Linked DNA regions of Homo sapiens: all the other regions are linked to region 1. Evidence: promoter capture Hi-C in 16 types of primary human blood cells and fetal thymus (Javierre and others, 2016). All regions are on one chromosome and are shown on one strand. Each heading gives the region's core, a stretch centred on a gene start or on the middle of the fragment in contact. The rest is flanking DNA. Distances are from core to core; before and after follow the strand shown.

Region 1 (3,691 bases), core at 360-2,859:
TGTCCCCAGTACCCAGTCCAGGACAAGGCACCCAACAAGGATGGATGTGTGTCTAAAGCGAGGATGGGTAGAAACTTGCCAGAGTCCACATTAAGGATCACGGCCAAGCAGCTCCATCTAACCCCAAGTGGCTGGGAGTTAATCATCAAACCTGGGGAGATCAGAAACAGCCCAAGAAGGACACACAACATCTGTGATGCCAGGTCTTCCTGTTCCCACTTTCCACATAGGGAAACTGAGGCCCAGAGATGGGCACGAGCTGCTCAGGTTCACCCAGTGAGATGGTGCAGAGACAAGACATGAATTTGACCATGTCATTCCCCCCACCTAAAGCCTTCTGTGGCTCCCTAGTGCCCCTGGGTAAGGTCCAAACTCTGGATTGGTACAGGCATCCCTGTGGACTCTGATCTCTGCCCACATCTCCAGCCTCAACCCCACTTGCTTCCCCACCCCTGCCTTCTCCCTCCCAGCCCCACTGGATACTACCCTGACCCTGGAATATATCATGTTTTTCATTTCCAGACCTTTGCACTCCCTGTGCCTGACTCCTGGCTCCACTCAGACTTCCCCTCCTCCAGGAAGCCTCCCCAGCCCCCCAGGGCCAGGCGGGGTGCCTGCTCTGGGTTCCACAGCCCTGCCCCACCCTGCCAGCTGCTAACATCTGATAGCACTAATAAGTGCTCTCTAATGGCCCTCTCTAAGGGCTTTGTGAAGGCAGAGGACATGCTATTTTGTTTGAGGCCAAAGTTCCAGGGATTGGCACATAGTAGGTGTCCAATAAACATTTAATGAATGAATGAATGGTCAGTCATTCATCTGAGTAGCAAATAATTGCTTGGGTTCTCATGCTGCGTGTAAAATATCCGAGACGGAGAGGTGCTTCAGACAAAAATATACCTTTCCCATGTCACAAATAATAATTATAATAATTGTTTCCTTGGCCAGGTGCAGTGGCTCACGCCTGTAATCCCAGCACTTTGGGAGGCAGAGGCAAGCAGATCACCTGAGGACAGGAGTTCGAGACTGGCCTGGCCAACATGGTCAAACCCTGTCCCTACTAAAAATACAAAAATTAGCTGGCGTGGTGGTGGGTGCCTGTAAACCTGGCTACTTGGGAGGCTGAAGTGGGAGAATCGCTTGAATCCAGGAGGCGGAGGTAACAGTGAGCCGAGATCGCACCATTGCACTCCAGCCTGGGGGACAAGAATGAAACTGTGTCTCAAAAAAAAAAAGTTCCCTTGTCCTTGTTTTCCCATCCCAGACCTAAGCTGACCCCAACAGTGGTTCAGCATCCGGGACAATCACTAGACCTAAAATGAGAAGACATGGAGATGCCTGCATCCCGGAAGAGATGGCCCAGGGCCAGGGGTAAAGGCTGTCTCTGCCCCTTGCTGTCTGGGAAGCTTTGGCCAAATAAGTTCCCTTTTCTGAGTTTCAGTTTGCTCATCTGTCAAATGAGACAGGGTGGTGCATGAGTCATAGGCAGTGCCCGGGAAAGCGGTGAGGGTTGCTCTCATCCCCTCTCCTCCTCCGTCTTCACCCGGAGGCTTAGGGTCTGGAGCTTTCTCTTTAACAAAGGAGGAGGGACCAAGGTTGCCGGAAGCTGCCTGAAGCTGGACAGAGCCGGTTCCTGGAAAGAGCTGGTTCCCTGGCAGGCTGGAGGGCAGGAGCTGGGGCCACGCTGGTCTGGGATAGTTGGGCAGGGAGGTAAGGGGTCTGGGGCCAGCTGGGGCCCCTGGGGCTCAGTGTGTGTGTGAATGAGAGGCTGATGAGAGGCTGCAGGAGTTTGGGAGGCTTTGGGCAAAGTCCAAGCTGAGCAGGTGGGAGTGAGAGGGCCTGAGCGTGTTCTAGGCCCTCCTGGGAATGTCGATTGAATTCAGGGTGCCCTGCAGAAGAAAGTGTTGTGCTGGGGACCCTGAAGGGCGAGAGTGGGTTCTGCCTGCCAGAGGGGCAGGGTTGGGCATTCTGCCAGCCAAGGGGCCAGCCCGAGGTGTCCCAGCCCTGGCACCAGGGATTTGGCTGTGGAGTGCCACCAAGGTGGCCTCTGGGGAAAGGCTTTGGGGACAAGTGAGGTGGACAGCACTGGTGGTCCTTACCTCAACTCATAGATGTGACAGGTAAGGCCCAGTGACAAAAGTGACTTGGCCAAGGTTGGCATGACTGGGACCTGAGCCTGAGCCCCCTGCTTTCCCCTGGGTTATTCCACAGCAGGGAGACCCAGGTCCCCCATTTCAGCCCTGGTGGCTGCCATACGGGACAAGAGGTGTGTGTCCCTGGGCCAAGACAGCTCAGTCCCAGACCTCAGGTGCCTGATGGGGTCTGGGGTTGATAAGGCTGTTGGCAACTTGGGGCTTTTTCATTTAACTGATGCCTGCTGTCCTCTTGTGAGTCAGTATAACCAAGAGGGCTGGGGAAGCCTGGAAACTGAGCCAGGAGCATTTGGTTCCAAAGGACAATTGGCAATAAATATTAAATGCATGCAGCTTTCATAATAGTAACGATAACACTAGTATATTAGAGAAAGTATAGCATCGCGGTTAATAGCACAGATGCCAAAGACACTGCCTGGTGTGAATTCTGGCTATGCTGTTTCTAACTGTGTGAACTTGGATAAGTTACTTAATCTCTCTGGACCTCAGGTTCACTGTTTATAAAATGGAGTCAATGGTGAGTTAATGACTCATCTGTTGTGAGCCAACAGGTGGCTCACACCTGTTATCCTAGTGTTTTGAGAGGCAGAGACAAGAGATTTACCTGAGGCCAGGAGTTCAAGACCAGCCTGGACAACTCAGCAAAACTGCATCTCTATAAAAATTAAAATATCAGCCGGATACAGTGGTGCATGTCTACAGTTCCAGCTACTCAGGAAGCTGAGGTGGGAGGATTGCTTGAGCCCGGGACTTCAAGGTTACAGTGAGCCATGATCGTGCCACTGCACTCCAGCCCAGGCAACAGAGTGAGACCTTGTCTCTAAAACAAACACCAAAAAAACAAGAAAGCGGAAGGATTATGGAGTAGGGGGAGTTCATCCTGACAATCCCAGGATCCCCAGGGGAAAAATCTGGGGATTTCACCAAAAAGGAAGAGAGACCCAATTCCAAGTGGACAGACACCCAACATGGGTGCCCTTACCATGCAGGCTCATTGAATCCTCACAATAGTCCTGCCATGTACACGCTCTTCTTGCAGTTTGTTGTGTGGTTGGTTGGTTCTCATTTTTCGGGTCTAATTTTTAATTTTTTATTATTTTTTTTGAGACAGAGTTTCCCTCTTACTCTCTAGGCTGGAGTGCAATGGCGCGATCTCGGCTCACTGCAACCTCGCCTCACCGCAACCTCGCCTCTCAGGTTCAAGCAATTCTCCTGCCTCAGCCTCCCGAGTAGCTGGGATTACAGGCATGCGCCACCATGCCCGGCTAATTTTGTATTTTTAGTAGAGACGGGGTTTCTCCATGTTGGCCAGACTGGTCTTGAACTCTTGACCTCAGGTGATCCGCCTGCCTCTGCCTCACAAAGTGCTGGGATTACAGGCATGAGCCACCGCGCCCTGTCTCAGTTCTTAGTTTTAATGGTCACTTCCTCTAAGAGGTCTTTCCTGACCTCCATACCCAAAGTAGGTCCCCTTGTTCTTCTCTTTAGGACTCCCTATATGCGTGTTTCCCTCTTAGAAGTTTTCAACATTTCTGATTATT
Region 2 (3,691 bases), core at 695-3,194, 490 kb after region 1:
GGAAATGCAGTGCCTCCTGATGCCTGTCTGGTTTAACCCAAGGCTGGTTAGTTAAGGGGCTGGAGTGTGGTGCACTGAGGCCCGAGTGGAAGGCTGGTGGCCTCCGGGAAGGGCCCCAGGCACTGCTGCCTCGGGCTAGGAGGCTGCCTTCTCTCCCCTCCAGCAGGCGGGGTAGCTTGAGGCCCTGCCCAGAGAATGCTCTCCGGAGCCCTGCACTCTCACCTGCACACCTGTCCCACTGGCTGTCCCTGTCAGTTTCCTCTCTGGTCCCCCACAGAGAGACCTGAGTCTCTCCTGAAATGGCTACATGCCTCGTGCCTAGCACAGTGCCTGGTATAAATGACACACTCGCTGTCATTTGGTCCCACTGGAATGATCTGGAGGAAGACAGTTCCTTCTAGACCCAAGAAAACAGGCAGCAGAGAGGAGTGGCTCCAAGCCGGGGCTCTGGGTTAGGCTGACTTAGATCCAAATCCCCATTCAGCGGCATGGTCCCAGGCAGGACACTCCATCTCCCTAGTTTCCATCTCCAGTTTCTGTCTGGGTGCAAAAGGAATGACAGCATCCATCCCTCGCAGGGCTGCTGTGCGGCTTAAAAGAGGTGATTCTGCACGGGAAGGCATTCAAGCTCAGAGCCCCGCACACAGCAAGCGTGTAATAAAAGGGAGTTGTGATTTTTACTACACCTGGTAGGAGAAACCCATAGAACCTGCCTGCCCAAATGGACCAGCTTGGTTCCCCGAAACCCTGAAACCTCCCCCTGGCTAATGACCTTTACCGGCCAGTGGCTTTGTCTGAAATCCTGTCTGGGGCTTCCCTGGACAATCTTGAAGTCCCTGAGAAGGCTCACAGCGACCCCTGCTGTCTGCAACGAGGAACTGCCTTACATCCCCAGCCGGAGTGAACAACAATAGCAGGTACGGCCCTCCAAGAAGGTCTTACGTTTCCAGGGTTTTAAGAAAACTCTCATCAGAACAATGGCAAGGAGAAGAGTCACCACATGTAATTATGTTCAGTGGACACTAATTCCCTGTCTTCTAAAAATAAATATAATACATGAGATCACACAAAGTGCTCTCTCTTCCCTTGTGGTCTTTTGTTTCCCCGGATAAGTGTCATCCTAAATATACTGCAGAACCAAGTGAAACTGTCATTTCAGCGGGATATTATTTCCCGATCAACATGCGCTCTTCTTAGCAAGCCCGTTTTAATCTGGCAGTTCTTAAGTTGGACTCCTTTTAAAAAGCAGAGCATGTTTAAACAAGCAGACATACCGAGAGGCTAAGGATATGTACCTTCCTGGAGGGACGACTGATCAGTCGAGGTTTAGGGAAATGGGAAACCTCCCCCCAGGTCATGACCCCATCTCGCCAGGCTATTCCTGCTGTGCAGGATACCCGGAGATCATAGCTAAGATCCTGCTTCCCAGATACTGGCAGGATTGGTCTCTGCCTCAGATCCCAGCTCACCACACACCACATCTGTTTATGAACTGAATACTAGTGTATGATTTAGAACAAACAGAGGGGAAAAGGAGGACAAAGATATCTGAAGTTCCCCACATGACTTCTTATTCTTCAAACTACAGAGTGAGAGCAAAGAAGGTAGATGCCACACAAAGATAATTGTTTCTCATCTCCAAAACACAAGGCTGATTTTGTAACCACAGATTACCTTGCAAGATGCTAACTGGCAACTCTAACAGAGGCTTCACTCTTGGACCCTTGTGCAAGTGTAGAATGAACGAACGAGACCTAGTGTCTAGAATCCTAAATGTTCACCCACGCGCAGGCCATGGTGCTGCAGGTCCCCCGAGCAGTCCTGGATCCCACCGAAGCCTCAACAATGTGTTTAGGTGAAGCTGACTTCATCTGCCTTTGCATTCTGAGAGCTAGATGGTCTCTCTATTACCCTGCCCATGCCTTGGGTGGGGGGGCCTTGGCTTCAAGCATTCCCCTTAGGCCCTGATATGAGGACGTTTCTTTCATTCATGGCTTGGTGCTGGGTGGTGCCTACCTAATCTGAAAAGCCAAACACTGTAACATGGCAGCGTAGGGATCACCAACTAGGGGCCCTGGGGCAGGCCAGACTTGTTTTGTTTTTAAAAAGTGAATTAGTTGCTGATGAATTCTCCTTAAGAATCCACATGGCTGGTTTCTCTTTCAAAACATGGGAACTGGTCTTACGAAGCCTGAGTTCCTGCATGGCATCCCAGCTGGATGACCAGAGAGAGGCCCGCCTGCTGCTCAGTCCCCACCCAGCCTGCTGCCGTTACCGGCTGGGTCCCTGCGACAGCTGCATTTTCCACCCCTGTGCAAGCAGGTGCTGACGGACTGCTTTATGTGTGCAGGTAATTCGCCTTCATTTCCATAGAGTCATTTAGGCCACTGGTCCCCAACCCCGGCTGGACATTAGGATCCCCTGGGGAGCTTTTAGCAAAACACCGATGTCTAGACCCCACTGTTGAAAAATGGAATCCAACTCTCTGGGGGTGCAGCCTCGGGAAAGGTGTATTTTAGCCATTGCCAGGTGGCTGGAATGTGTGGCTAAGGTGGAAAACCAGCACCTTAAACCAAAGGGGTAGCCTGGATGGAGGAAATTTCAAGCAGATCATGGGTAGGGCTGGGTTTTAGCCACTGGGGCCCCTGCCCCTCTTGCACGTTGTGGATGGGGACAGGGAAGCCTGCCTGCCCTTTCTCCATCTGCCTCGGAGAGGGGGAAGCCTGGCTGTTTTGACTTTTTTCCTGCACAGTGCTCTGGGGAGCCACATCTGAGATTAAGGGAGATAAATCAAAAGCAGCCAAAAGATGACCTTTGAAAGACCACTGTGCCGGCCTGCAACGGAACCATCCAGGACCCAAAGGCCATCTTCCCTGAGACTCGGGCAGGCTCCCCGCCCACACGCCAGTCCCCTGGACTAAACCTGAAGTTCTCACCTGAAGAGCTCTCGGATCTCCCGGCTGTGGGCCTGGAAGGGGATGTTCCGCACCAGGATCTTGGAGGTGGTCTGCTTTCTGGGAACTTGTTTCTTCCGAGCCAATGTCACGGCTGGCCTGGAGTGGTGGGGGGAGAGGGTCCAAGTTATTCGGAGCTTCAGCAGCTCCTGCCCAACATTGACTCCACTACGCCTCCATCAGAATATTCAGGTGATGGATTCAAGGAGTGTGCGTGGGGTGCGGGACCAACGTGAAAGGAGAGGAAGGCCGTCTCCCACCAGGTGATAGGACCCAAAACAGCTGCAGACGTCAGGGGGACACATCCGTGCTTGGGTGGCTGCTGACCTTCATTTGAGAGACTCCGGGGCCACCAGGGACTTAAGGAGCCCCGCTAAGGGTGGGGCTGGTTTCTCACCAAACCCAATCTCCATTGTGTCTTTCTCTCCAGTTGCAAAGAAAGACCCCAGTTGGTTTCCAAAGGTCTTGTGACACTTCATCAATAACCCGAGGAGGAACATGCGGGGGCCTAACCATGCAGATGGACCAGGTGGCGAGCAAGGACACTCTCAGCCCAGGTTCAAGGCCATCCCCAATGCAGTGCTACCTGGCCTGTCTCCCTGCTCTCCCAGGGAAACCTCCCACTCCACCAAAACAGGGTAGGGAAGTGAGCAAGGCTGGGAGTTAACAAGCTGGGTGTGAATGCCAAATCCGACACTTAGGATCTCTGCGATCTTGGGCAAGTAACATGGCCGCTC
Region 3 (3,691 bases), core at 593-3,092, 450 kb after region 1:
AAGTGAGGAGCCTCTCTGCCCGGCAGCCACCCCGTCCGGGAGGGAGGTGGGGGGGTCAGCCCTCCGCCCGGCCAGCCGCCCCGTCTGGGAGGTGAGGGGCGCCTCTGCTCGGCCGCCCCTACTGGGAGGTGGGGAGCCCCTCTGCCCGGCCAGCCGCCCCATCCGGGAGGGAGGTGGGGGTGTCGGCCCCCCGCCCGGCCAGCCGCCCCGTCCGGGAGGGAGGTGGGGGGGGGTCAGCCCCCCTGCCCGGCCAGCCGCCCCGTCCGGGAGGTGAAGGGCGCCTCTGCCCGGCCGCCCCTACTGGGAAGTGAGGAGCCCCTCTGCCCGGCCAGCCGCCCCGTCCGGGAGGGAGGTGGGGGGTCAGCCCCCCGCCCGGCCAGCCGCCCCGTCCGGGAGGGAGGTGGGGGGGGGTCAGCCCCCCCGCCCGGCCAGCCGCCCCGTCCGGGAGGTGAGGGGCGCCTCTGCCCGGCCGCCCCTACTGGGAAGTGAGGAGCCCCTCTGCCCGGCCAGCCGCCCCGTCCGGGAGGGAGGTGGGGGGGTCAGCCCCCCGCCCGGCCAGCCGCCCCGTCCGGGAGGGAGGTGGGGGGGGTCAGCCCCCCCGCCCGGCCAGCCGCCCCGTCCGGGAGGTGAGGGGCGCCTCTGCCCGGCCGCCCCTACTGGGAAGTGAGGAGCCCCTCTGCCCGGCCAGCCGCCCCGTCCGGGAGGGAGGTTGGGGGGTCAGCCCCCCGCCCGGCCAGCCGCCCCGTCCGGGAGGTGAGGGGCGCCTCTGCCCGGCCGCCCCTACTGGGAAGTGAGGAGCCCCTCTGCCCGGCCACCACCCCGTCTGGGAGGTGTACCCAACAGCTCATTGAGAACGGGCCAGGATGACAATGGCGGCTTTGTGGAATAGAAAGGCGGGAAAGGTGGGGAAAAGATTGAGAAATCGGATGGTTGCCGTGTCTGTGTAGAAAGAAGTAGACATGGGAGACTTTTCATTTTGTTCTGCACTAAGAAAAATTCCTCTGCCTTGGGATCCTGTTGATCTGTGACCTTACCCCCAACCCTGTGCTCTCTGAAACATGTGCTGTGTCCACTCAGGGTTAAATGGATTAAGGGCGGTGCAAGATGTGCTTTGTTAAACAGATGCTTGAAGGCAGCATGCTCGTTAAGAGTCATCACCAATCCCTAATCTCAAGTAATCAGGGACACAAACACTGCGGAAGGCCGCAGGGTCCTCTGCCTAGGAAAACCAGAGACCTTTGTTCACTTGTTTATCTGCTGACCTTCCCTCCACTATTGTCCCATGACCCTGCCAAATCCCCCTCTGTGAGAAACACCCAAGAATTATCAATAAAAAAATAAATTAAAAAAAAAAAAAAAAAAGAAAAGGCACTGTGTATTTTAGGAAGATTTCCACTGAATGGTCAACATTTTCAGAGGGCTGATACTTAAAGGTATAAGGTGGCAAAGTCACTTACTGGGGAAACCCCTCATTGTTCAGTGATGGGAGAAATGAGACGCATGGTGCGGGTGATGAGCTGAGTTACACGTGTCTGGACCAAGTGGGGAGTGCTGTGCCCCAGAGGGCCAAGAGCCAGATATCTCGCCATCACCCTGGAGACCTGCTTAGCACAGAGACAAACAGATGAACCTAGAAACCCAGTCACCGCCCTGCTAAATGGAAACAGAGAACAGCAGCAAGGTGGAGGGTGCCACCTCAAAGGTGCTCCGACCCAGGCTGCTTGTCTGCACACGACTAGCATTTGCTGTCACCCTGCTTCATTTGTCACCTCGATGTTATGGGACTTTGCATTCTATTGCACATTTTTTCCCCTCTATTTGTTTATGGTTGGTCTTCCTTGCTAACTACTGAATGGCCGGCACCCAGAACAGTTCCAACAGCACCTGGCACACAGTAGGTGCCCACTAAAAAGTGTCTGTGGAGTGCTGATGAATGGAGTTATTAATGGATGCTTGTCTTTTCCTGGATTTTCTGATTTCTGGCCCCTCTCATGATCGGGCTCTCAATACCTGAAATAAGAAACGGGGAGTGGGAGGAAGCGGCACTTGCTGAGCACCTGCCCTGGCCATGCCAAATGCTCTACACGCGCTGCCTCCCTTTAGGCCCAGAGCAGACCCACTGGGCGGCAGGCCTCCCAGGACGCATGTGAGACCTCGAGGGGAGGTCTTATCTGAGGTCACAGGACTTGCGTGTGGGTCTGTCTGACTGTGGATTTTGCTTTGGCACACTGTGCCCCACCCTGGGGACAGTAACCAGCTTCAGCCCTTGAACTCAGTCCTTATGTTCTAGCTGGAGCCCGCCAGCCACTGGGAAATGATGGCAGAAGTGGAAAAAGAGGCTGAGGAGATGATGATGGATAGGGAAGGCGGCTTCTGAAGAGCTAGCATTCTAGAGGTTTCTGACACCTGCCATGAGGAGGAACACTCCAGAACCCCCATGATGTTGGAAAGCCCAGTTCAGATGCTCCCCATCCTCTTGGCAAAAGGCCAAAGCATCCAAATGGCCCTACACAACGGCTGAAAAGAGGGAGCGGGCATGGTCACTGAGTCTCCCTGGGAAGTCCCAGACCAAGAGGTCACAGCCATGAGGGGACCACTTTTCCAGACCAGTGGGGTACAGATTGGGGTGTACTTCAGGTAATTGAGTAGCTTCAACATCTGAGCTTCTCAAGAAAGCCAGGCCTACTGTCAACCAGGAGATGACAGCCAAGACACCTCTGCAGAAGATGCAAGCGGCGAAGCCACGGTGCGGACCGTTCGACAGAAAGCGTTGGAGGCCTCCCAGGGACATGTCAGGGGACAGGGAGCACGGGAGCGAGTGATTCATGCCGCAGAGCCTGCCAGTGCTCATGGGGAGGAGAACGAATCACCCTGCTGGGACAAATATTATTTTTAAAAGTCTGGGAAAGAAAACAACAATAAAACAAGCCGAGCTCAGGATGACTGGTGAGTTTTAAGATGCAGGGAAGGGTTGAAATGAATCTGCGAGTTGGACCATTTGTTTGAGGCCAAATAAACCAACAAAGAACTCGATTCAATTACAAAAGTTTAGAATTGGATGGTGAGTCAGAAGCTGAGAGCCCAAGAGGTCTAATCGGGTCTGTGCGTGGCCTGGAGTCCAGGACCGAGAGGAATGGACTCTGGAAGGCTGGTTCCTGGTGGTGATAGGAAAAGGCAGAACATGTGAGTCAGAGCACGCAAATGTGACAGCCCAAGTCGGGACAGCCCTTGGACATCTTGGTGTATGTAGGTGGGAGTCTCTTTTCTTAATAAGAAACCCAGTTAGGACCAGATAGGATTTGGGGTGTAGCAAAACCAAGGAGCCTGAGGCAGAAGTGAAGAGAAAGACGAGAAAAATCAATGGTCAGGAGGCCCCTTGCAACAGCCACTGTTTATCTCACAAGTGCGTTAAAGAGCGTCATTTGCAAAGTTCACGCAGAGGGAAAAGTCAATGATCGTGTCTCTGGCGACGCACAAAGCCCAGGATGTGCTTCATCTCCCAGCTGCCTCTCTGTGCACACACAGGAGAGGGGCCGTTTGTGTGAATCTCGGCCACACCTCCCCTGTCCTCACTTCCTCCTCCTCCATTCCATTTGGAAGATGGGGAAGTGTGGTCACAGCTTTTTCTGAGGCACAGTGACTATTCCAGCAGGCCTGTGGTGACGTGTGCCTTGGGGTGGGTGTGGGGTGG
Region 4 (3,691 bases), core at 360-2,859, 440 kb before region 1:
TTTTAAATAACAAATAAAGCACAGGCTTTGGAGTCAGGCAGTGTGTTAGTGTGAGAACCTAGCCTGACAACTTCCTAGCTGTGTGATCACGGGCAAATGTTTCCACCTTTGTGAGCCTCCATGTTCTCATCTGAAAAAGGAACCTTAGGACTACGCCTGCCCAGCCTGCCTACCTCTCGGTGTTGCAGTAAAAGTTGGATAAGGGCAGGAAAGGCCCTTAATGAGCATGTGCATTAATCGAGGTTTTTCCAGAACTAACAGGGTATTTATATTTATTTTGAGGTATTTATTTTAAGGAATTGGCTCATGTGATTGTGGAGGCTGGCAAATCCAAAATCGGCAGGGTAGACTGGCAGGTGGGAGACCCAGGAAGGAGTTGCTGCTGCAAGTGGAGGCCAAGGCACTGCAGCCGAATTCCCTCTTCCTTGGGGGAGCTCAGTCTTTAGTCTATTAAGGCCTTCAACTGATTGAATCAGGCCCACCACCTTACAGATGATAATCCACTTTACTCAAAAAAAAAGTCTACCAATGTAAATGTTAATCTTATCTTTAAAAAATACCTTCACAAAAAGATCTAGGATAATGTTTGACCAAATATCTGGGTACCTGGGCTCAGCCAACTTGACACATAAAATTAACCATCCCAGTATGGAAGGGCCCTGGTCCCCCACTACATCTTGGAGATTTTTGCCTTCTCTGTGAATTATTATTGCTGGGCCAAGGCAGCTGGCTGGGAGTCCTCTGCGAGTTTTGTTTTCAAAGCTCTGGGCACAGGAGTTGCATGTCTGTCTCCTTTCTGGCTCACACACTTGGGGTGTGTTTTCTTGCCCTTGCGAGGCTGGACAAGTGCCTCATACGGTCCCTCGGCTGTCCACAAGTGTGCTGAGAAACTGGACACACAGAGGTTCCCACCCGCTGACCACACGGGGGCCTGTGTTTACCCAGAAGCAGACCAAAACCTGAGTCCAGCTAGGTCCCTGCTTTGCTGTGTGTCCCTGAGCAAGTCAGTTCCCTCTCTGGGTCTCTTTTTCCTCTCTGCCGCTTTCCCTGAATGTGAGTTCCCTGGCCACTGAGAACAGGGGGAAAGGGACAGAGCCTCAAAAGATGACCTGTGCGCCCCTGCTTCTAAGCACTTTGCAGGTATTATTTAATCATCAAGCTAATCCTACGAGAGAGCTGCCATTTTCCCCCAGCTTACAGATGGGGGAATTGAGGCGCGAAGAGGGCAGGCGATGTGCTCAAGGACAGACATCTAGCAGGTATGAAGCCCTCACAATGGGGTTCTAGAGGCTGTTTAGTTAACCTCAAGTTTTGGGGAGCCCCTGAAGGGCTGGTCACCACGCTGCCGGGGACAGGGAAAGCCTCTGAGCTTGAGTCAGTTTTGGTTTCCCTGCTGGGGTGCAGGAGTCAGTAAACCTTGCTGCAAGGGGCGGGGAAGAGCATTTGAGCTTAAGTTAGTTTTGGTTTCCCTGCCCCGGATGCAGGAGTTGGTAAACTCACTGCAAGGGGCAGGGCAGAGCCTCTGAGCTTAAGTTAGTTTTGTTTCCCTGTCCCGGATACAAGAGTTGGTAAGCTCGCTGCAGTGGGTGGAGAGAGGCCTCTAGACTTCAGTTTCAGTTTCCTGGCTCTGGGCAGCAGCAAGAATTCCTCTGCCTCCCATCCTACCATTCACTGTCTTGCCGGCAGCCAGCTGAGAGCAATGGGAAATGGGGAGTCCCAGCTGTCCTCGGTGCCTGCTCAGAAGCTGGGTTGGTTTATCCAGGAATACCTGAAGCCCTACGAAGAATGTCAGACACTGATCGACGAGATGGTGAACACCATCTGTGACGTCCTGCAGGAACCCGAACAGTTCCCCCTGGTGCAGGGAGTGGCCATAGTGAGTCCAGGGCTGAGGTTGGGTCTCTGGGAGGCAGGAGATTCCACGGCGGCAGCAAGGCCGAGCTACTGGGTGCTGGGTGCCTATTATGTGCGAGGCCCACACTTGGGTGGGATGTGGTGTAGGAGTCTCAGGCTCTGGAGCAGGCGCTTGCTCCAGAGCTGTGTGACACTGGGCAGGCTACTTAACCTCTCTGTGCCTCAGTCTCTGACTCTGTAAAATGGGGAGAGGCATAATACCCACTTCAGAGTATCGTAAGGCTTGAGCACATCATGTTCTTAGCAAAAGACTGGCAGTGCTCAGTGAATTCACTGTGATTACTCACTGCGATTTTCTTCTATCCTCTCCACAGTACAGAGGAGTAAACTTAGGGAGGCTAGAGAACTTTGTTCAAACTACCCAGGTTGCCTTGTGGTTTCTCCGCAGCAAGAAGGAGTGGCTTTTATCAGTTAGAAATATTTGGTTTTGTGGACACAAATCTCAGGACTGAGGCTGAAAATTCTGGACCTCTGGGGAGGAAGGGGGACTGGGGAGATGCCAGGACCCTAGAATTGGGGGCGTGGGGGTCCTGATGGCCCAATACTATCCTCTTAGCCTCCTGAGCTGCTGACGTCCCTTCTCTGCTGCTGCCACACTTTTTGGTCTCTACCCCTTGCACACATCCGCTAGTGCCTCAATAAAGAAATCTAGACACGTGGTGTCCCCAGCCCTGGCCCAGGCCAGCAAGCTAAGGCAAGTTTGGTTAATAGCTATTGTCAGAACTGGGATTTTAAGCCTGGGTAATTGGCTTGAGGGCATGCATGTTTAACCACTACACTATCCTGCCTCTCAATTTTTTTTTCCTCATGGAAGTAAAACAGAAAAAGTGCCCAGATCAAAGTGTCCAGCTTGATAGGTAGCCACAAACAATGTAACTGTGTAACCCCCACCCAGATCCAGAAACAAAACATTCTCAGCCCCCCAGAGCCCTGGGCCCCCGATCCAGTCAGCACCTCCAAACCCAGGTAGGCAATCTCCTGACTTCTAACAGCATAGACACGTTTTGCCTGTTTTTAAACGTTTTACAATTATAGGGTGACCAACTATCCCAGTTCATCCAAGATTGGGGTGTTTCCTGGGATGTGGGACTCTTGGTGTGAAAGCTGGGAATGTAAACCAGGATGCATGGGTGAACCCTACATAAATGGCATCATGGGCTCTGTGTGCTTTAGTGCGTGGTTTCTCTGACCTATGATGTTTATGAAATTTATGTTGTGGGGTACAGTTGTTTATCTTTTCATTGTTGTGTCAATTCCATTATGTGAATATTCCACATTTGTCCATTCTACTGTGTTTTTTTATTTTTACATAATTGTGCATATTTATATGGGGTACATGTGATATTTGGACACATGGATACAATGTGAAATGATCAGGGTAGTTAGGATATCCATCACCTCAAACATTGATCATTTATTTGTGTTGAGAACAGTTCAGATCTTCTCTTCTAACTATTTTGAAATATATAATAAATTATTGTTAACTATAGTCACCCCATTGTGCTATCAAACACTAGAATTTATCCCTTCTATCTAACTGTATGTTTGTATCCATTAACCAACTTCTCTTCATTTCCTCCTCTACTTCCCAGCCTCTGGTAACTATGATCCTACTCTCTACCTCCATGAGATCAACTTTTTTTAACTTCCACATAAACACATGCAATATTGTCTTTCTATGCCTGACTTATTTCATTTAACATAATGACCTCTAGTTCCATGCACATTGCTGCAAATGACAGAATTCCATTCTTTTTGTGTCTGAATAGTATTCTAT
Region 5 (3,691 bases), core at 357-2,856, 410 kb after region 1:
AACCTTGGGTAAGTTGCTTCACCTCTCTGGGCTCCTCTCAGTTTCTGCAGTTACTGAATGGTGATGAAATCTACACGCCTAGGGTGTGTGAGGGTATTAAAAGAATGAATATATGTATGTAAGGCCCTCACAATAGTGCCTAGCACACGGCAAGCTGTCAATATAGGTTGGTCATTCTTACTGCTGTTGATGGAATCTGTTACTGAGAGCACGAGGGTGGGCTGCTCCCCTCCTCTATAACACGATGATAGCAACAGCAGCTCTCGACTCTGTCTCAAAAAAAAAAAAAAAAAAAAAAGTGACCAATGGGATGGAGCAGGGCCTCCCACTGTGGGCCCACAGAAGAGTGTCTGGATTTGCTGACATGATTTGCCATGAATACAGAAATCAGTGACTAATGTTCAAAAACAGGGAGATGCTACATAAGAATCTGCACCTCTCGTTTCTCTTGAACCTGGAATGGCTAACCTGTGAGTGTGGCAGACCTGTCCCCTCCCTGCCTACAGGTAACTGATGAGGCTGTGCACTAGCTGCCCCTGGAGACACGCAGCCTCACTTATGGGGGCTTTTCTTCCTGTTCCTGGAGGCTCCTGAGTTGCTACTTCCCGAGACACAGGATAGGCAAGGCTTCCACAAACTCCGCTAAGTCGGAGACAGAACTGATTCCAAGAGGCCGGGGTGAAGGGCAGGGGGCGGGGGCACAGGTGGGCGAGGGGAGGAAGGAGGTTGGGGCAGAGTGTGGAGGCCAGAATGAGGCTCCACAATCTTCAGACTCAGTGGTGTGCAGTCCTAGGCTGCTGGGGGACACCAGCCACCTGTAGCTCCCACCCTTGGGGAGTATGAGGGTGCCATGATGTGGGTACCGCAGGGGGGCTGGGCACCCGGGGGCTGGCCTGGCTTGGGAGGCTGCCTGCTCTGGAAGGCTGGCTGAACCAGACCCCCACCCTCAGCTGCTGGTGCCTCTGCATGGGTCTCTCCCTGTCCTCCCTGGCTTCATATCTTGCAGCCCCCACGGGCAGAGCTCTCCTACCCAGATAGGTCTGCATCTCAGGGCTCTGTGTACAGCAGGCACACATCAGGTACGCACAGAATAAAGGGTACTCTTCAGGAGACTGGCCTGGCTCCTAAGACCAAGCCAATGTCCCTTTATTGATACAGGAGGCTGTTTTAGGGCTGTGCCTTTTTTTTTTTTTAAATAGACAGAATCACACTGTCACCCAGGTGAGTGCAGTGGAGCGATCTCGGCTCACTGCAACCTCTGCTTTCCGGGTTTGAGTGATTCTTGTGCCTCAGCCTCCCAAGTAGCTGGGATTACAGGCGTACACCACCAGGCCCAACTAATTTTTGTATTTTTAGTAGAAATGAGATTTCACCATGTTGGACATGAGCTCAAGTGATCCACCCGCCTTGGCCTCCTAACGTGCTGGGATTATAGGCATGAGCCACTACGTCCAGCCAGTTGTGCCTTTTTAAAACACAGCGAGTCCTTCTAAGAACTAGGTATGATCTGAGAGGGTCCTTGTGCAGAGCGGGTGGGCAGGAGCCTGGGCCGCAGACTGGCCTCTGCCACTGTGGGACTCCCAGGAGCTGCTAAGCTCCTTACCTCAGTGTTCCCACCTGTTAAACGGGGACGGTGCCTGCTCTGCTTATCTCATGGGGACCGTAAGGATTCCTGCCTTCAGTCACTCTTAGCAAGCATGACCCAGCATATTCTATGTGCCAGGAATGATGCTGGGGATATGGCAGTGAACAAAACTCCACAGGATAAACTAAACCACCAGCCATGGGGGCCACACTGGGGCTCAGGGTGGACAGGACGAGGTGGGACCTGAGTGCTGCCACTTGGTGGTCCCAGCCTTCTCTGAGTTACCAAAGTTACTCTTCTGCAGACAGGACACAGTAGTAGCACCCACCACAGGGGATTTGATGAGATAAAGCATGAGAGCACTTAGCCCAGGGCCCGGCCCGTTGAGGTGCCAGGCAAACATGAAAGCTAACAATCAAAGGGTCCTGTGAGGCCACCCCAGAGGACAGGCAGTGCCCAGCAAAGGGGAAATCCAGCTGCCCAAGATAAGGCCAAGGGGCGAGCTGCAGGGACCACTCCTCAGGCGCCTGCTGGCTCTAAGCAGCAGGCTGGCTCTGGACTTTCCTACAGAAATTCCACCAGCTAGGCAACATCATTGTCCCACTTTTCAGATGAGGAAGCAGCCGCACTAGGACTCTGAAGAGTCAAGTGGTCACACTTTCCAAGCAGGACCTTGAGCTCAGATAGGGTTGGCTCCAGCCTTACTGGCACAGCATAGCAAAGCCTGCCCCGCAGAGGGGGACACTAGCCCAGCCTCCCTAGGATGGGGGTCTCAACAGGAAAAGCATGAACAGACCCAGGCTATGTAGCAGCAATTTCCTTTTCAAAGGCCATTGGTTCTCAATCCAGCTGTCTGGTAGCATCAGCTAGGAACCCACTGATGCCTGGATCCTACCTCCAGAGGTTCTGATGCAAATGGCCTGGGGTGAGCACGGGATATGATGACTGCTATGATGACTGATGTTATTAATCTTGGTGCTGAGGACCTGGGCTCCCTGAGTGGCTGGAGAGTGGGTCGGTGGGTGGAGTAACTTCCCTCTGTGCTCTGGGTGTCTTGTGTGTGTGCAGAATTCTATGACTGGCCACGCACAACCCCATACACAGGGGCTGGTGAAGGTGCTGCAGCCCTGATACCCATGGAGTTACCCTGAGCTAGGGCTGCGGGGCGGGGGGGGGGGGGGTGGGCTATGCCTGGGGGCTTCTAGACTTGGTCCCACATGTTTGTATTAGTTACAGATACTGGCAGACCTGTGCGGCTGGGAAGCAAGGGGAGTGTCCCGGTGAGGGTGACTCACTGCAGAGGGAAAAGGGAAAAAGAACCAGGAAAGGTGGGAAGGCATCCCCTACTCCTCTGCCTCAGGTCTGGAGGAATCCCCCAAGTCTTAGGGTTTGGTCCACATTAGTTACTGATCTCTTTTCTTTTGGCATAGGCCCTGGGTTGGAAAGCAGAGGCTGAAAGGGAGCAGCTGGTAACATCTCATAGGGCCAAGGTATAGTGGTGTCTGTACCAGGCTGTGTAAGTGCAAAGGCTCGAGGGTCCAGATAGGAATATGATGGCATCAAACAGTCCAGGGGGTCGGGGGAGACTACAGGGAGGGCTATGCATTGTGCGTAAGGGGAAGCCCAGCCTTCGTATAAACGTGCAGCCATTCCTTGGGCCTGGTGCCCTGTGGGAATGTGGAACCAGGCTGGCCAAATCTGATTTTTCAGAAGAGGTCAGAATCTTGATTTTCAGGTCAAATCTTCCAGTAGGAAAATAGTGATGATTCATTCAAAACCATTGTTTTCATAACTGGTAGGCAAAATAAAGATCTAATTTCAGCCGACAACTTGCCAGTGTGGTCTCTGCTCTTTTCTCTCTCTCCTCTCTGTCTACAAAACCCCACTACTTTCATTTGTGGTCATGAAGCAGTAATAAAAACCTTGTCTGTGTGTTTTCCTTGGGTTTCTCCAGGCTGGGCCAGCCTACAGTTCAGAAATAAAACTGGCCACCCCCTACCACCAGCTACAACCCTGGAGGGAAACCCACCCTTCCTCCTGTCCCTGTTTCTAGCACTGTGGTCCCCAAGTCCCCAAACCCTCGTCCAATCCCGGCCCAGCCCCTGC
Region 6 (3,691 bases), core at 867-3,366, 290 kb before region 1:
AGAACACACCCCACCTAAGGGCTCCCATGGCATGGAGCTCCCAGCAGCCTCCAGGAAGAGCCCCTTTGAAGAAGGGTGCTGACAGCTAGGGAAACTGAGGCAGGGTGGCCAGAACCCCCCCTGCCAGCTGGGGCTAAGTGACTCCTCCCCACCCTTGCTCTAGGGCATGACCTATTTCATAGCTCACTGGCCCAGGAATTGGGGGCAGGAAGTTTGGCCAAGAGCTGCAGGAACCAGGCATGACTCAAGTCCCTTCTCCAGAAGAGCAGCAGGTTACCGTAAGCCAGTGTCCAGGTGCAGGGGTGACACCCATCGCCCCCTCATGACCTCTCACCCAGGGCTGGTGGAGGGGCCAGAGCTCAGTGAGTGAGAACCCCGTTTCTGGAAAGAACTCCTTTCACCACCTAGCAGCTGCCAGGCATCCAGCCTGGCCTCAATGCCCTAACAGTGTAGGCCGTCTCATTCCCAGGGCCTCTGAGGGGACATCTTAGAAAGAGTCTGGTGGGGGGGCTTGTCCAGCCACTGAACTGTCAGAGCACACACTCTGCTTCTCATTCAGGGTGTGTATATTTGGAGTAGCCAATGAGGATGAAGGGTGGCAAAAATTGCTCTCAACAGCTGCCCCCTTGACGCAGCTGCAGTGTTTTGGGGGTTGGGAATGTCATAAAATCAGGCAGGAAAGTCCTCTCTGGGAGCCCACACCTTGGGGAATCAGCACAGAGCTAAGACTGAATCTTGACACAGGTGAAGGCTCCCAATCCATGCTCCTGCTCACCTGGGCCACAGGGGAACTCCTAACAGGTCCTCCACCCTCCCAGCTGGATGGGAGACCCCAGGCAACCAGATGGGGACTCCGGTCCAGAGCTCTCATTGCCCAAATGGGAAACCAAGGCCCAGAGAGAAGCAGGTTCAAGGTCACACAACAAATGTCCTCCAGAGGATCCCACACCTGTCGCAGGTGCTAAGGCCCTCAGAGCCCCTTCTGGGCACTATGCCAAGCAGGAGGGGGAACCCGCCCCCCATATTCTGCTGATTCAGCAGCTGCTGACTCAGCCCTGGGGGAAGCATAGCTTGGGACTAGTAGTGAAGGGAGCCGTAGGGTCCCCCAGTCCCATTGCACCTGGCTGGGGAGGGGGTCGCAGCAAGGAATTGGCTCTTCAAGCAGCTCAGCACCCGGGGAAGGCCCACACGAGGCTGGGAGCCACAAGACTGGGGAGCTCAGGGCTTGGGGTCAAAAGGACCCTGGAGGGCCACCTGGTGACACTCTGCAAACCTAAGCACCAGATCCACACAGGATGTTAGGGCTCATCTGATCCCAGGCCCTCTCCAAGGGTCCTCCCCAGGGTTCCCTTGCTAGGCCCCCACCCACGCCTGGAGGAGCCACCTCCAACATCTGCCTGGACTAAGGAAGAGACCCCCCGCTTTCTCCCCTCCCAGATCTGACAGAATATGGCCCTCTAATCCCCTCTTCAGCTCTGGACGACCCCCTTTAGTACATCCCGGGAACAAAGACACCCCCTCCCCTGCCCGGGGGTGAGGCGGGGCATCTGCTAACTCTAGGCGCCCCCCTCCCACCGGGACAGCCATGGGCATGCGGCCTCTCGCCCCTTTAAAGCGGAACTGCCCCAAGACCAGTCTTGGACAAGAACCCCTCGCCCTCCTGCCAACCCGCCCTGGCACGCGGAAAGGGCGACGTCGGCCCCACCCCAGGCCTTGCGCGCCCCTCACCCAGAAGCGCCCGAGGAGTACTCACACGTCCTTGGCAGGCAGCGCGCGGCCCTCCACCACGCGAACATTCAGGGAGCTGCTCTTGGCCATGGCGCCTAGCCACAAACTTTCCAGGCAGAAGGGCGCTCAGGTTCCGAGGCTGGACCAGGGGACGTCTACATGTCACCTGCTTCAAGCCTGGCTCCCTGCCTCGTGGTCCCAGTGCCGCCTGTCCGAGACCCGGGTAGCTGGATGGGAGATTTCCGAAAGAGGAGAAGGTGTAGGTGCCCGGGGAGGGAGCGCCCGTCCGGACTCTACAGGTAGGAGCCGTGCTCCGAGCAGGAGGAGCGCGCAGGGGGCGCAGCGGGCTCTTGCCGAGGCGTCTGGAGCTCCAGACAAGCAGGCTGGGCGGGCAGGGGGCGGGAGGGGCGGCCCAGGGACCTCCCCACAATCCCGCCTCCAATGGGGTCCCCCACCTGACCCCGGGCCCCCTCGCGCGCCCTCTACCGGCACCCCAGTCATGCGCGCCAGAGCGCACGGGCGGCGGAGACAAGGGTGCACCGCCAGGTGGGGAGGGGCCCCCGTCCTGATGGGCGTGGCCGCTGGCTCCTGGTGAGTTGGCATTGGGCTTAAAAGACATGGTCTGTGCCCCCGCCTGTCCCTCATCCAACATATTCACACCTCTCCGCCCCCACCCCTCCTTGCCTACCATGCAGACACCTGCCTCCTCTCTCCAACCTCCGCGCCCCCCGGTCCAGGAGCAAGTATTAGTGGTGGGTGGGAGGCGTCGCCAGAGAGAGGGTCGCATGTTCCCTGGGGGTCCGTTCAGAGTCAAGGGAGGGGCCTTGAACATCCCCTTCCATCTCGTTCTAGTTTCCAGTTAAACACAGAACCCAGACTCTGCTCTAACGTCACGGGCTGGCACTGCGGGGGAGGAAGCCGCGGCCAGATGGGGGAGGGGAAGGCTTGAAGATAACCACTACAGCGATGATAAAAAGTCATCTACAGTTGTTTGAACACTTCATGGGTGCCAGGCACTGTTCTAAGCGCTTTACTGGGATTAGCTCATTTTTGTCTCCAGATGTGCACTACACACTACTCCACTGTTACCCCATTATCCGCAGTTTATGGATAAAGAAACTGAGGTTCAGAGGGATTAAATAACTTGGCAGAGGTCTCACAGTCAGTAACTGATTTGCCTTCCAGGGGTTCGAATCCTGGCTCTGCCATTTGGTAGCTGTCTGGACTTGGGTAAGCCATTCAACCTCTCTGTGCTTTGGTTTGGTTTTCTCATCTGTTGAGTGAGGATGACATTGCATTTCAGTCACAGGATTTTGAAAGAATTAAAAGAGTTAATGAAGATAAAAGTCTCAGGACAGTGACAAGTACCTAATACACGTCCAGAAAGTGTTTGATATTCTGATTGTTGTCCTTTGAGGCGTGGGCCACGCGTCACCTCTCCTGGGAAGGCTTCCAGGATGCCCTTCCACTCCGGTAGAGATTTTCTTTCCTTTCTCTCTGCTCCAGTGGCTCCAGGTTTGTACATTTTTCTGATTTTAAATGAGATAATATGACAGGCAGGGCCTGTCCCAGAACAGATCCGTTCGCACACTTATTTCTCCCTGTGAATTCATTGTTGACCTGCCCAAGACCTCTTAGAAAGGCCAGGCACCAATGGGAGTGCCCCTGCAGACTGAGTGCGGGAGCCAACGCCCAGACCGGTGAGACCAGGAGTGCCCTTCCTGGATCCGTCAGCAGCCCAATGGTCTGCTTCCCAGTCTCCCTTCTTGACTCCCCACCCAGCAACCCAGACAGGCTGATGAGGAACTCAGAGCCCTGGAATTCCTTCCCCAGCTGGTGGCTGCCTGGTGAGTCTCTGACCCACCAGAGATGGGGTCTCAGTTAATCCCATCTGGGAAATGGACCTAGCAGAACAGGCTCCAAGGCTTAGAAGTATTGCAACATCCTCAGCGGGGCATGAGGG

The links. Contacts are between HindIII fragments. The CHiCAGO score rates a contact against its expected background, and 5 or more counts as called.
Region 2: a fragment that was not itself captured here is called in contact with the fragment with the promoter of SDSL in region 1 in 6 of 17 cell types (erythroblasts, megakaryocytes, M0 macrophages and 3 more); the score reaches 16.6 in erythroblasts.
Region 3: a fragment that was not itself captured here is called in contact with the fragment with the promoter of SDSL in region 1 in 1 of 17 cell types (erythroblasts); the score reaches 5.2 in erythroblasts.
Region 4: a contact is called between the fragment with the promoter of OAS2 here and the fragment with the promoter of SDSL in region 1, in 2 of 17 cell types (total B cells and fetal thymus). The highest score is 6.0, in total B cells.
Region 5: a fragment that was not itself captured here is called in contact with the fragment with the promoter of SDSL in region 1 in 1 of 17 cell types (megakaryocytes); the score reaches 5.3 in megakaryocytes.
Region 6: a contact is called between the fragment with the promoter of RASAL1 here and the fragment with the promoter of SDSL in region 1, in 11 of 17 cell types (megakaryocytes, neutrophils, total B cells and 8 more). The highest score is 10.1, in megakaryocytes.

The regions. Positions count from the first base shown.
Region 1 is chr12:113,420,771-113,424,461 of GRCh38, forward strand. SDSL (serine dehydratase like) reads left to right here and starts at 1,610. Exons shown (of 8, transcript NM_001304993.2): 1 at 1,610-1,707. The HindIII fragment of the contact is 13,599 bases long and covers 1,402-3,691 here.
Region 2 is chr12:113,912,033-113,915,723 of GRCh38, forward strand. It overlaps RBM19 (RNA binding motif protein 19), which reads right to left. Exons shown (of 24, transcript NM_016196.4): 21 at 2,937-3,053. Among named protein-coding and RNA genes, the nearest start is that of RBM19, 52 kb to the right of the region's middle. The HindIII fragment of the contact is 6,170 bases long and covers 1-3,691 here.
Region 3 is chr12:113,872,346-113,876,036 of GRCh38, forward strand. The region is part of intron 21 of RBM19 (RNA binding motif protein 19); the gene reads right to left. Among named protein-coding and RNA genes, the nearest start is that of RBM19, 92 kb to the right of the region's middle. The HindIII fragment of the contact is 5,903 bases long and covers 1-3,691 here.
Region 4 is chr12:112,976,910-112,980,600 of GRCh38, forward strand. It overlaps OAS2 (2'-5'-oligoadenylate synthetase 2), which reads left to right and starts at 1,610. Exons shown (of 10, transcript NM_002535.3): 1 at 1,610-1,876. The coding sequence starts at 1,700. RefSeq lists enhancers at 1,155-1,964, 2,185-2,264, 2,435-2,514, 2,625-2,774. The HindIII fragment of the contact is 12,087 bases long and covers 1-3,691 here.
Region 5 is chr12:113,827,824-113,831,514 of GRCh38, forward strand. All of the region lies in intron 23 of RBM19 (RNA binding motif protein 19), which reads right to left. Among named protein-coding and RNA genes, the nearest start is that of LINC01234, 56 kb to the left of the region's middle. The HindIII fragment of the contact is 6,564 bases long and covers 1-3,691 here.
Region 6 is chr12:113,133,645-113,137,335 of GRCh38, forward strand. It overlaps RASAL1 (RAS protein activator like 1), which reads right to left and starts at 2,117. Exons shown (of 21, transcript NM_001301202.2): 1 at 1,754-2,117. The coding sequence starts at 1,818. RefSeq lists a silencer at 2,104-2,243. The HindIII fragment of the contact is 4,772 bases long and covers 1-3,691 here.